Linked DNA regions of Homo sapiens: region 2 is linked to region 1. Evidence: promoter capture Hi-C in 16 types of primary human blood cells and fetal thymus (Javierre and others, 2016). All regions are on one chromosome and are shown on one strand. Each heading gives the region's core, a stretch centred on a gene start or on the middle of the fragment in contact. The rest is flanking DNA. Distances are from core to core; before and after follow the strand shown. Region 1 holds the start of KLF13 (KLF transcription factor 13). Region 2 overlaps TRPM1 (transient receptor potential cation channel subfamily M member 1).

The links. The method cuts DNA at HindIII sites, captures the fragments that hold promoters and counts their contacts. A CHiCAGO score of 5 or more calls a contact.
Region 2: a contact is called between a fragment that was not itself captured here and the fragment with the promoter of KLF13 in region 1, in 2 of 17 cell types (total B cells and neutrophils). The highest score is 6.9, in total B cells.

Annotation. Positions count from the first base shown.
Region 1 is chr15:31,324,820-31,331,323 of GRCh38, reverse strand. It overlaps KLF13 (KLF transcription factor 13), which reads right to left and starts at 4,489. Exons shown (of 2, transcript NM_015995.4): 1 at 3,535-4,489. The coding sequence starts at 4,111. RefSeq lists enhancers at 1,093-1,657, 4,767-5,280 and a promoter at 4,308-5,364. The HindIII fragment of the contact is 12,301 bases long and covers 1-6,504 here.
Region 2 is chr15:31,019,770-31,025,484 of GRCh38, reverse strand. The region is part of intron 27 of TRPM1 (transient receptor potential cation channel subfamily M member 1); the gene reads left to right. Among named protein-coding and RNA genes, the nearest start is that of TRPM1-AS1, 4.2 kb to the left of the region's middle. RefSeq lists an enhancer at 785-1,079. The HindIII fragment of the contact is 710 bases long and covers 2,742-3,451 here.

The DNA.
Region 1 (6,504 bases), core at 3,240-5,739:
TCCCTCCTCCACCCCAAACAGGGCCAGGTGACCACAAACATGCCTCGGGTTCTGCAGGAGGGAAGGCTGGGCACGCCACTGTGCCCACCTTTCCATGGGACCCCCAGAACCCAGAAAGGGCCCAGCATGCAGAGAGATGTTTTGACTCCAGCGCTGGAGGGAAAACAGGGCACAGAGCAGTTTTGAAAACAATTCTCTGTGGGAACAAATAGGTAGAAATGTATTCAGGGTCTCTCTGCCAAGAAAGACCAAGTGGCCATTCTGCTGGGGGCCTGCCAAGTCTCCCCATTCAGGACAACACGCAGGACTCTCCAGAGGCAGGATCTGGGCAACCAGTCTGCCCTCAAGAGGGCCCCAGCCTGACCTATCGAAGGTGAGTCCTTGAATTCCTGCATCAAAGCACCTCAGGTTCCAAGAAAATCTGCTCCTGGTCTTGCTGCTCCCCTAAGCCCCTCTTAGCAAACTTTCCAGGTCTGGACTCGGAAGTTCTAATTGGCCAAATAATAAAGTAGCACGAGCTGCAAAGATGTTTTTCTTGGTTTTGTGTTATTACGCATTGTTATAATATCAACAATTACCTAAATGTGACAGAGACCAATGTGTCCACAGGATAACTCCTGGAAGAGTGGGAGTGGGAAACCACACTGCTACACAGCTAACCAGGACAGAAAGCTCTTAGCATGCAGCTGTTCAGAGAGTGGGGGTGGAAAATCAGAGCAGAGCCACGGCCAAGGGACCACAAGTGCCTCCAGAGTCAAGGCTGACCCTTGCACTTCTCAAAGGGTCTTCACATACTTGACCTCATGTCCCTGAAGACTTTGCAGGTGGTCAGGGCAGACATCACCAAGTTGCAGGGAGATCTGGGAACCGGTCCCTGGTCACATAGAGGAACAGCACAGAGCAGCTGGCCACCTTCCTGGTTGTGATATTCACCCTCTGCCATGAAATTACTGTGGATCCTGGAAATGCGGGAAGTGGGGCGGGGGCACCTTCCCGAGCCTAATGGAGTACGGGGCCCGGCATGACCTCAGTCACTGACTGCAGAGACCCCACAATGCTGCTAGAGGCCCACAAACCACGGACACCTCAGAGCCCACGGCTGCAGCAAAGCCATCACCTTGTGCCCTGCCTTCTCAGTCATCCCTGAGGCCTGCCTGGGTTTCTCCCTTCTGCAAGATGCTCTTTTCTCCCCCAACAGCAAGCTCCTCTTCTCCCTTGAGGAACACCAGTTACTTATGCTCTGCACACCTGGGAAGGGGCTGGAAATGGGCTTCCCAGGGGTGCCCTCCACCAGATGCTGAACCAGACTCCCTCCAGAGGCAGGTTTCTGGGCAGTTCAACTCTCATAATGGGTCACCTGGGGTACCGGTAACATGCACTCCCAACTGCACGCTGGAACTGTGTGTACTAGGTCGGCATCAGGGGCCCGGAAATCTGCATTCTTCCCAACTCCCCGCCACCCCGCTGCCGGAGCCCTGTGCACTTCCAACTTGGAGGCCGGCTTCCACCCTGGAGGTAGGACTTCTGATGTCTGCACACCTGAAGGGTGGAATAGTTTCTCTGCTTCAAGAACGAGCACTGTAGCACACTGCAGACACTCAAAGGGTTGGTCCCGTGCTCTTTTGCCTGCCTTCGGTTTCCAGGCGCTCCGAGGAAACTGGCCCCACCTACAGCGGGAGGCCCGGGTCTCCAGAGCCCCTGCGCCAATATTCTAGTCAAGAGGCTCGCGCGGGGCCAGAGCCTGAAGCGGGAGATGAACCCACCAGGAAGACATCCCAAGGCTGAGGCCCTGACAAGCCGGCCCCGCCCACGACGGCGAGCCCCTCCCCTCGGCCACCCCCCTCCTCAATTCCCCGCTACCGGTGCTGCCGAGTGGCAGGCCACCCTGACAGAGGCCGTAGAAAAATTTCCCAAACATTAAGTATCCTGCCCAGCACGGGCATCATCCCCCAAAGCGGATCTCAACCCCAGCCACGCCCCAATCGCTGCCCCCACCCGATACTCAGGATCCACCTGGAGCCGAGCTGAGCCTAGCCTGGCCCCTCCCCCAGGGCCACACCCACCCTGCAGCCGCGTCCCGAGCTGAACTCTGAGCCCACACTGACTCCCACCCCCAACCTGAGCCCCCACACCCTTAACTGACCCCGAATGCCTAGAAATGGCCCCGCTCTCACCCTCTACCCCATCACCTGCCACGTGGTTTGGAGCGGCCACAAAAGCCTCCCTGGGGAAAGTTAGTCCGAGATCTGAAAGCCTCACCTGCAGACCTTGGGCCCTTTCAGTTCCAAATGGTAAAAAAAAGGGGCCTTCAGCTCTAGGGTATCCAAGGCTGCAGCTTCTTTTTATGCCTTTTAATCACTATGTGAACTATTTTACAAATGAGAGACCACCACCCTTGGTCACAAGACAACAGTATTCAGTAGACGGGTTTTGAGCCTGCCCCCAAGGTAGAAGAGGTGAGTGTCACAGAAGAACTCACGTGAGCTCAGAGGAAGCATACAATTCTTTACACCAAAATGGGGAAGGATTGCCGTCCATTAAAATATTTTCATCTTTATGTTAAAAACGAAACAAAAAGGGGGGAGGGAACCGCCACAGATGAATCAACTACAAAGTATCGGGCCGCGCGTGGGAACTGTTGCCGCTGGGCTGGCGGGGGCGGGCGGTGATCCCCAGGCTGGAGGCTCAGCGCCCGCCCTGGTGCAGGTGCCGCCCGCCCCGCACCGGCCCAGGGCAGGTGAGAGGTGGGCAGGCGAGAGGGCAGCACGGAGGATGGGCAGCGGCCAGGGCATTCCTTTCCGGAGAGAGCCTCGAGGCCGAGGAGCCTAGGGCCGGGCGCGCCCCCGCCGGGCCGGATGGGCGGGGGCTCCCACAAAGAGCCGCAGGCGGGGAGCGGGACCCGGGACCGCCCCCCGCATCGCCAAGCGCCGCCGCTGACTTTGGTTACGACAAATTAAACCTTAGAGCGCTGGAAAAATTACAGGAAGAAGAGAGCGAAGAATGTGCCGAGTGGCGAAGGAAACCTTGTCCCTGCGTGAACTTCGCCCGCCGCGCGCCGGGGCCGGCCCCTCCCCTCCTGAGCGCGCGCCCGGGCAGCGGGGGAGGAAACGAGGAGGGACCCCGGAGAGCGTCCCCTGCCCCCGCTCCGGGCGCCCCACCGTCACGAGTGCCGCCTGCGGTCCACACCCAGGCCGCCCGCACCTGCCCGCGCCGCCTCCCGGCCGGGAGGGGTCCCCGCCCCCAGCCCAGATGACTATATCCGCCCCCGCGGCCCCACCCGAGCGCGCCCGGGGAGGGGGCGTGCCCGGCGGGGGCGCGGTCGCCTGGCGGGCGCCGGCTCCGAGAGCCAAGACCCGCCTCGCGCGACGCGCGGGGCCAGCCGCGGGTCGGAGCGGCAGGGGAAGGGGCGAGGCCCCGGGCGTTCCGGCCCGCCCGGCCCCCACCTCGCGCCCCATCGGGGACTCCGGGGGCGTGGTCGGGCAGCTCGCGCCGACCCCGTCCGCGCGATCCGGGCGCCCGCGCCGCCCCACTGACCTGTGTGAGTTCTCAGGTGCGCCTTGAGGTGCGAAGATTTCCCGTAAACTTTCTCGCAGCCCGCGTAGTGGCACTTGTGCTTCCTCTGCGGGGACTCGAGGTCGGCGCGACTTCGGCCCCGCCGGACCCTTTGTCTGAGGCCGGGCTCGCCGCTCCCCGCGGGCCCCGGCTCCCGCTCGGGCTCCAGCCCCGCCTCGGGCTCCGGCTCGCTCCACGCCGGGCTGGGGGGCGCGGCCGCCGCGCCTTCGGCGCCGGGGGAGGTGGGCTCGGGGGCGGGCGGCGGCAGGCGGCAGGGGGTCCTCGCCTTCCGGGCCGCGGCGCCCTCCCTGCGCTCCGCCGGGGCGGGCGCCGGCGCTTGCTGGTTGAGGTCCGCTAGGATCCGCGCCACCACGAAGAGCGAGGCGCTGTCCTTACCGTCGCGGCGCTCCTCGACGCGGGGCAGCGTGGGGGTGGCGGCCACGGCCGCGCCCTCGGGCCGGGACTCCGGCCCCTCCCGCGGCCCGTGCACGACCGCGCGGCTCGACATGGACACGAGGCACTCGGCGGCGAAGTGGTCCACATAGGCGGCGGCTGCCATGCTGCGGGCTGGGGCCGGCGGCGGTGCTCTTGCTGCGAGTCGTCAGCCGCGCATCCGCACCCACGGCCTCGGGAGAGCGGGCGGGGGGCGGGGGCGCGGCGCGCCCTCTCCTCGGGCTGGGCTGGGCTGGGCTGGGCGCGCAGCCGCCTGTGCCGTCACCCGCGCGGCTCCGCGTCTGCGAGGCGCCGGCCCGGCCGGGCACCGAAGAGTGAGCGCATGGGGCGCGCGGGCGACTGGGGTCCCCGCGCGGCGTCAGGGGCGGCCGGTTCTAAGGATGCCGAGCGGCAACGTTAGGGACCACCTCGCCAAGTCGCGGCCGCAGCTTCGCCGCGCATTGTGGCAGGCGGGACAGCTGCCGTGCGCGCCGCGGCTCCGTGTGGGCGGCCCGGCCCCGGGGGTGGGCGGGGCCGGGGCCACATCTGGACCCGACGTCAGCCCCCAGCCACATCCTGGCGGCGCAGGTTACAGGCGGCGGCGGCTGCGGGGAGCTGCGCGCGCGGAGGGGGCGGGGACCCCAGAGCGCGCACCGGCGGAACGGAGCGGTCGCGTGCCCGCGCCTGGGCAAGGGGGCGTGACCGAGGGCCGGGACAGACGCCATTGGTCCGTGAGTGCACGGCCAGGCCAATCCGAGCCGTTAGAGGGGCGTGCCCGGTCCCGGGCCCTGCGCGCGCCAGTGGGCGTGTCCCCTGGGCCGGTGGGAGGAGGGGCGGAAACTGGAGCGGGGCGCGCTGACGCATGACGTCCGGGGGCGGCGGGCCGGGTAGTCGCGGCGCGGAGCGGCTGCTTGTACCCCCCGCGGCGGGGACACAGCGAGCACTTCTCTGCCGGAGCTTTTATGTGGTGACAGCCTTGGCCCCCGGCATGGAGGGGAGCGGTTTCTGGAGGGCGCCATTTGTTCCTCCCGCGATGGGCGCCGGCGGGGAGGCGTGTCTGCCCGGCCGGGCGCGGGGCTGCCTAGGGGCGGAACGCACTCGCGCCGCGCCCTCCGCCGCCGGCTTGCCGGGTGGCCGCGCCTAGAGCCTCAGGCCGCTCGCCCTCCCCACGCCCCTGCCTTGCAGAGCTCCGGGAGTCCGGGCGGGGCAGCTCCCGCGGGAGGGACAGACTCGGGCTCGTTCCTGGGGTCCGGGGTGCGGCCGCGCTGCCCTTCAGCTCGGGTCAGCCCGAGCAGGACTGGCCTCGGCTGGCGGTGAGCCTGGCAGCCCGGGTGGCGCGCCCACCGCGGCCTGTGCCTCCAGAAGCGAACTACGTGCCAGGGCGGCCGGCGCCGCTGCTGAGGGAACGCGGGGCCCCTTCCTCCCCATCCCGCCGCAGGCCCGCTGCCAACTCTTCTAGGCTGCCCCTCTCCCACCGCGGTCGGGGGGGCTTCAAACGCCACCAGCTGCGAGGACCCCGCCCACCGCGCCCCACCCGCCCGCTGTCTGGGCCTCCCGGAGGAAATGCTCGGCTGCGCCCAGCCCGCGCCTCCCAGCCCGGGCTGGGCCACCTTGCCCTTGACTCTCACGGTAACCCCTACCCCAGCCCGCGGCCCCAGCCATTCTCCAGGCCTGGGCCGTCCTCGGAGACGCCGGTGAATAACTTCCCACCGCCGCGGAACCGGGCTCAGCAAACCCCCTACTGCCTCGCCCCGTTGCATTGTGCTTAATGGACGTTCGAAGGAGTCAGCCACCCTTGCTGTGTTCTGAGAGGAGCCTGGAGAATGAAGGAGCCCGGGCACTCACCCTCAGTGGACCCTCGCAGTGGGAGGGGGGTGTCATTCTTCTCTCAGAATTAAGGTTAATAGCCGAGTTCGAGTTCTCACCAAATTAATTTGGGGTTGGAGCTCAGTAAGACTGGTTTTCAGGTAACCGACGAGGGACCGAAACGGCCATTCTGGGTTGCGTGTTACGGTGAACAGCAAACTGCATGGATGTTTGAGCACCCTCAGTATCTGTAACTAAAACCCTGAAATGCGGTCTCGCTGATTGAGTTGCTACCCTCTGGGGAGACTAAAGGTGCTGGACTGGGTCTGGTCCCTTTAGGAGGGTCTGTGCTTGGTAGAAAGTAATCGTGTTTCTTCCAGGCAGATTGTGTTGATGACATTTAATAAGAGACGTGTGTCCTGACCAAGTAATGATTCGGAATGTTCCTCTATTCCCACCACATGTCACAATTAGTCACTTCTTAAGGAAGGAGTGGTCCTACACCAGCTTATCAGCCACCCATACCCTCCTGGCCCCTTTCCAGCCAGCAGAATTCTCCCCAATCTTCAAGGTGCCACGTCTCCCCACTGGGTCACCCCAGCCGGCATACACAATGGTAGGCCGTCTAGAGTCTGCACTATTCTAGTATTAGGCTACTACAGCCATGAACAAAACAGGCCTGCCTTGGGTGAGGGGATGCCCTACGTGGTCAAG
Region 2 (5,715 bases), core at 1,847-4,346, 300 kb after region 1:
GAACCAGTGAATGAGTAAATGAAGTCAGGTCGCGAGGTACAGAAATGGTGACATTTTCCAAACTTCGTAGTATTGCTCTACCCTAAGCTAGGAAAGAGCAACTGGCAAAGGGTAGACAGGAGCAATGGACCTTCACTGTCTGCACTTTTTATCACGTAAGTTTTGAGAGCCTTTATCATTTACTAAAAGCATTTTCAGCCTGCTAAAGATCTTGGTGACTGATAACACGCTGTTCCAAAGGGTTTCACTAACAACGTGGCCAGAAGGATGAGCTCAGAGGAGCCATGCCTAGCTCTGCTTTCTATCCTTGAGTACACAGAATTAAAGTTTCCTAACAGACACATTGAGAGCCATAAAAACAGGGTGGGACTTCAAAAAGATATTGCAGCTGACAGTTCCCAAACAATTACAACAGAATTCACAGATGCACCTTAGGTCTCCCTGGTGCATGTTGAGGCCAGTGAACTCTGCCCCAGCCCACAGGAGGGGAGATGGCAACTGTGGGTCCCTGGCCTCGGTTCCCTCCTAGACCCAGTCACCTTGTGACCCAACCAAATCCAACCAGCTAAACTCTAGGGTTACCTGCACCACCTTTCTTCCTTACCAAGGTGAATTTTTAATAAAACTTTGAAATGTTTCTTTGATGCTTTAACAGTAATTGCTAAACTTTCAAGGTATAAAAATTATTTCTTCATGAGAAAGTTAAGGTACCCCATGTAATCCAATTTCCACTTTTTAGTTAGACATTAACTTGAACGTAATTTTAACCAGTCATTTACAATGGAGATTGTGTTTTGTTTTGCTCTGCCTCCCCCTCTCCCTTCCCCGGCATTCCTTGGATTTTTACCATTCTTGGACCAAAGCTGCAAGAGTGTGGTTATCAGGTCACTACCAAATTGCATTTTTCTCTGGGGGCTCTGTGCACACGTAATAGGGATGAAAGTGTGTAGGGCAGAGAAAACATGCTGCTTCCTGTTTCCCTCGGCTGAGATCCCAGGAGCGATGGGAGCACATTCTTGCCCCTCCATTTCCCTTGGCCTTGTCAGGCTGACTCACAGGTGAATGCCCAAGACAGAAAGAGGAGAAGGCTTGAGGAGAAGGGAGTTTTCCTTCCCTCTTAGCCAAGCCAGCTGAGAAGCAAGGGATAAGGTGGGAGGATGGAAATAAAAGTAGCTATTTGGGCACCTGTGACTACTTTAAAAATCACACTTGAAGTACTCAAGCATTTCTGCCATTTCTTTAATATTCTTTCTATATAAAATTAGTTTTATTTTCTGCATCACCATTTCCCATTTGATGATTTTCCTGCTCTTCTCTCGGTCGTGTCTTCGCCAGCACTATTCAGTCTGTAGGGTCTGGTTAGGAGCATGTCAGCCCCTGCCTTGTCTCCCTGTTGTCTTGGTAGCTTTCAGAGCTGAGCTACCAATTCTCATGACTCAGTTTTACAGGCGTGTTCACACAGGATGGGTACCCATTAATCATTCTCCTCCACGCAGGGTGCTTTTAGTGCTTCTGTGCAGAAACCAAATTCATGGTTCTCTCCTAATGTTTGGAAATTTACCTATAAAATGCTAACAATTTAACCATTTATTTTTTCTCAAAAAGTTCCAACATTTTGTAAGATCCAACATTCAGTCCTGCAATGAGATTTGCAATACGATTCAGCATTGATTGACACAACACTGGGTCAGTCCTACCAACCACGCCCACTTAGATGTCATAGGGGCCCTGCTCTCAGGGTTCTCCTCCCAAACTTGCACTCCAGTCTCTGTGAATGGCATCGCCATTAAGCTCAGTTAGCAAACTGGCAAATCATTGTGGCACCTCCCTCTTCTTCACTAACAATCATCAAGTTCTGTTTACTTCCCCTCGTGAATACATCCTGATCCACTTATTTTTTTCATCCCTACCCCAACGCACCTAGTACAGGCTTCCATCATTTTCCACTTCCATTCCTGTAGCTGCCCCTACCTGAGCTCTCCATATTTGTTTCTGCTGTTTCAATCCATGTTGCACTGTCAGCTCTCATGGGGTCCTGTTCCCTCCTGCACTGGCTTTCCTGAAAAACCCTCTGTGGCCCCCACTGTCCTCAGGCCTGCAAGGCCCTGCCCTCTCTCTGGCTTTGCCATGCACTATCTTCTCCTTCATGCTCTGTATTCCATTTCTCTTTCATTTCCTCAAAGCACTGCTTCCTTCCTGCCACAGGGGCTCTGCATGGGCTGTGCCCTCTGTCTGATGCACCTCACCCTCCTTCCCTGCTCCTCTTCCTTGGATCTCTGCCCAAATGCCAATTCCTTATGGAAAACTTCACCACCTCACACCTTAGACTAGGTCAGGACCCTCAGGCCTTAAGCTGCATGAAGGCAGGGCCATGTCTGGGTTTGGTCCACCATGATATACCTAGAGCCTGCACATATCCACATAGTAGGAGCCAGACTTTTGTTTCTGTTTTTGTTTTTGTTTTTGTTTTTGAGACAAGGTCTCGCTCTGTGCCCAGTGCAGTGGCACAATCAGGTCTCACCACAGCCTCAACCTCCTGGACTCAAGCGAGCCTTCTGCATCAGCCTCTGAAGTAGCTGGGAATACATGTATGTGCCACCACGCCCAGCTAATTTTTTTTATTTTTTATTTTAGTAGAGAGGAAGTCTCACTGTGTTGCCCAGGCAGGTCTCAAACTCCTGGCCTCAGCAATCCTGCCTCAGCCTCGAGATTTTTTTGAACGAATGGATGACTTAAAAGCTTTTCTCCTGATTCGAATATAAATTTCTATCCCATCCTTAATGAGTTCCCTCATGGAATATCAAAAAGGAAACCAGCTATGCTCCCTCCAGGTTCAAGACACTGGTTTTACTATAAGGAAGTAGGAGCAGACTCAAGAGCCAAAGGATTGTGCCACAGGAAGGATAACAAGTGTTGGTGTTGGCACCATCTTTTTGCTCAAAGGGATAACATCAAAGAGCCATGAGGGCTGGTGGGATAAGAACATTTTATAAACAACTCCTTTTTTATTATTATTTGTAGAAACAGGGTCTCACTATGTTGCCCAGGCTGATCTCAAACTCCTGGGCTCAAGCTATCCTCCTGCCTCAGCCTTCCAAAATGCTGGGATTACAGGCATGGGCCACCATGTCTGGTCAACTTCTGGCAGCATGGCCAAAGTAGACCTCGTCAACCCATGTGTTCTGTCCTCATTGCTCCAGGAGAATATTTGGCAACATGAGTCCTTATCATTGGGAGATTTGAGGCTATCTGTGTCTTCTGCACATCCACTACGGAGCACACTGTTCTCTTTGTGGTTCAGCATCCCTTATCACAGGTTCACAGGTTCAAGAGCAATTGGGCTAGAAAGAATCTTTCCTGACAAAATTTTGTCAGAGACCCAACTTCCTTTTCTCAATGAGAATTATGTTATCCAGTGTGTTTTCCTTTTTTCCATGGCTTCAAGGAAGCTTAACACCAAACTTAATATTAAATTATCAAATATATTACTATAGGATTTTGAAATATGTGGGGTACGTTGCCTCTTCTCTGCTTTTTTTATATCGTCTACCTCCATTTACATACATTTTATTAATGTCTGACATTTCACAATATGCAGGATATAACTCATAAATTATACATTTTAAGTGTAGTTGGCCTTGTGCTTAAGAAGCTATGGGTCTTAGATGAGCTAAACCTATAATAGCATTTTCTGATTCCCCCAAAACTTTCTGGATTAAGTGGTTTCTTGTCAGATTTGTGGATATGGATTAAAGTGTTTTGTCTTTTTTTTTTTTTTTTTTAATTCTAGAGACAGGGTACTGCTTTGTTGCCCAGGCTGGAGTACAGTGGGATGATCATAGCTCACTACAGCCTCCAGTTCCTGGGCTCAAGTGAGTCTACTGCCTCAGCTTCCTGAGTAGCTGAGGCTACAGGCGTGCACCACCACACCCAGCTAATTTTTGCATATTTTGTAGATACAGGATCTCACTATGTTGCCCAGGCTGGTCTGGAACTCCTGGCCTCAAGCGGTCCTCCCGCCTTAGCCTCCCAAAGTGCTGGGATTACAGGCATGAGACATCATGCCCCATCCTGGATTGCCTGCAGGCTTGATGGGAAATCAGCAATTTGTGGCTTTGAAATCTTTTTATTTGGCATCCTCTTCCCATGTGACCAGAAAGAGAAATGGCTGGTAATGGAGACCTACCTAGAAGAAACAAGATAGTAACTAGAGGAACTGAAAGAGAGATCAGTCTTAGGAAGGAGGTGGGGGATTCTTTGCATGTAGAGAAGGTTGTAGAACGGCAAATGCGCAGTGATGGGGAAGACATTTGGGGATGATCCTGTCTGAATACCTTAATCTTCTAAATTCATAGGGTTCAAGGTTGCTTGGATAATAGGAAGGAGATGGCTTAAATGTTGAAATTTTGATGTGCCAGTGGATGACACCCTTGTTCCTGATCTGACTTTGAAAGCCAATTCAGAGACAGATGCAGACTTCAGGAGGATAGAGAAAAAAAAATCAGTTTTATTAGTAATAAAAGTTGTACTGGAGGGTGTGGCTTCGTTCTTGCCTACTACTCACCCAGAATTAGGAATACCCACTTAGCCACAGGCAGCACCAGCCACCACAGGCCTCGCTTCCCACAGGCAGAGTTTAGCCTGCGCGCTAAGCCTACCAGAAGACCAAGACAGAGAGACAAGCATGCAGTATCCTGGTCCCCAATCTCCAACCAAATGAGCCGTCCTCCTCCAAAATAAATAAAGGCCTGGAATGAGGTCAGAGCATTACTAATGAAAAGTCCACATACATAGAAAGAAAAACTAGGCATGGGCAAAGTGTACCTCTCCAACAATCAACATCACTGACTTAAAGCCAGTAGGAAGGATTCAAGTCAAGTGAGTTCACTTTTAGGGGGAATATGGCAGGAAAGGAGATAACCAGGATTGCTTGGCAGGAATAACAAAGATGCAAGTTAAATTAGATAACATGGCTTTGTACTGGGCCAGGTCAGTGTGGTTCCCATGACCTTCATCGGTGACACCGTACAGCCGAAAGGCAGGGATACAGAAAGACAACTGTACATACGGCATGGATGCTGAAGGAGGCCATGCGCCCAAAAACCAGTCTGTGGAGAGACCTCAAAGATGCTAGTGTTTGCAAATGGCAGCATAAACATACGACATTGCCTCCAGGCACCAAATATCCTTGCTTAGTCCTGGAGTCCTGGTAGCAATAGGTTGGGGGTTAGGGATTGGCACTAACGTGTTGCAAGTAAGGGAGAAAGAACATAGGTTATTAATGAGGGCTTCACTTCGTGGCCAACCACAGAATCTGGCCTGAATAGAAAACAGAACATAACCAGAAAAGGCTAATGATTAGATGACTTGAATTCTATAAACCCAGGAAGTCTGGGGTATGTTTAAATGAGGCAGCATACAGCTAGAATCCCAGAAAGCTTAATGTTCTTTTAGTAACTATTCAGTATACTGTTTATTACAGAGAATGAAAAAGCCAGAAGAAAGACATGAGTCTTGGCCGGGAGCAGTGGCTCACACCTGTAATCCTAGCACTTTGGGAGGCCGAGGTGGGCGGATCACTTGAGGTCAGGAGTTCAAGACCAACCTGGTCAACATGGTGCAACCCCTTTTCTACTAAAAATGCAAAAATTAGCCAGGTGTGGCAGCGAAAGGCCTGTAATCCCAGCACTTTGGGAGGCCAAGGTGGATCACTTG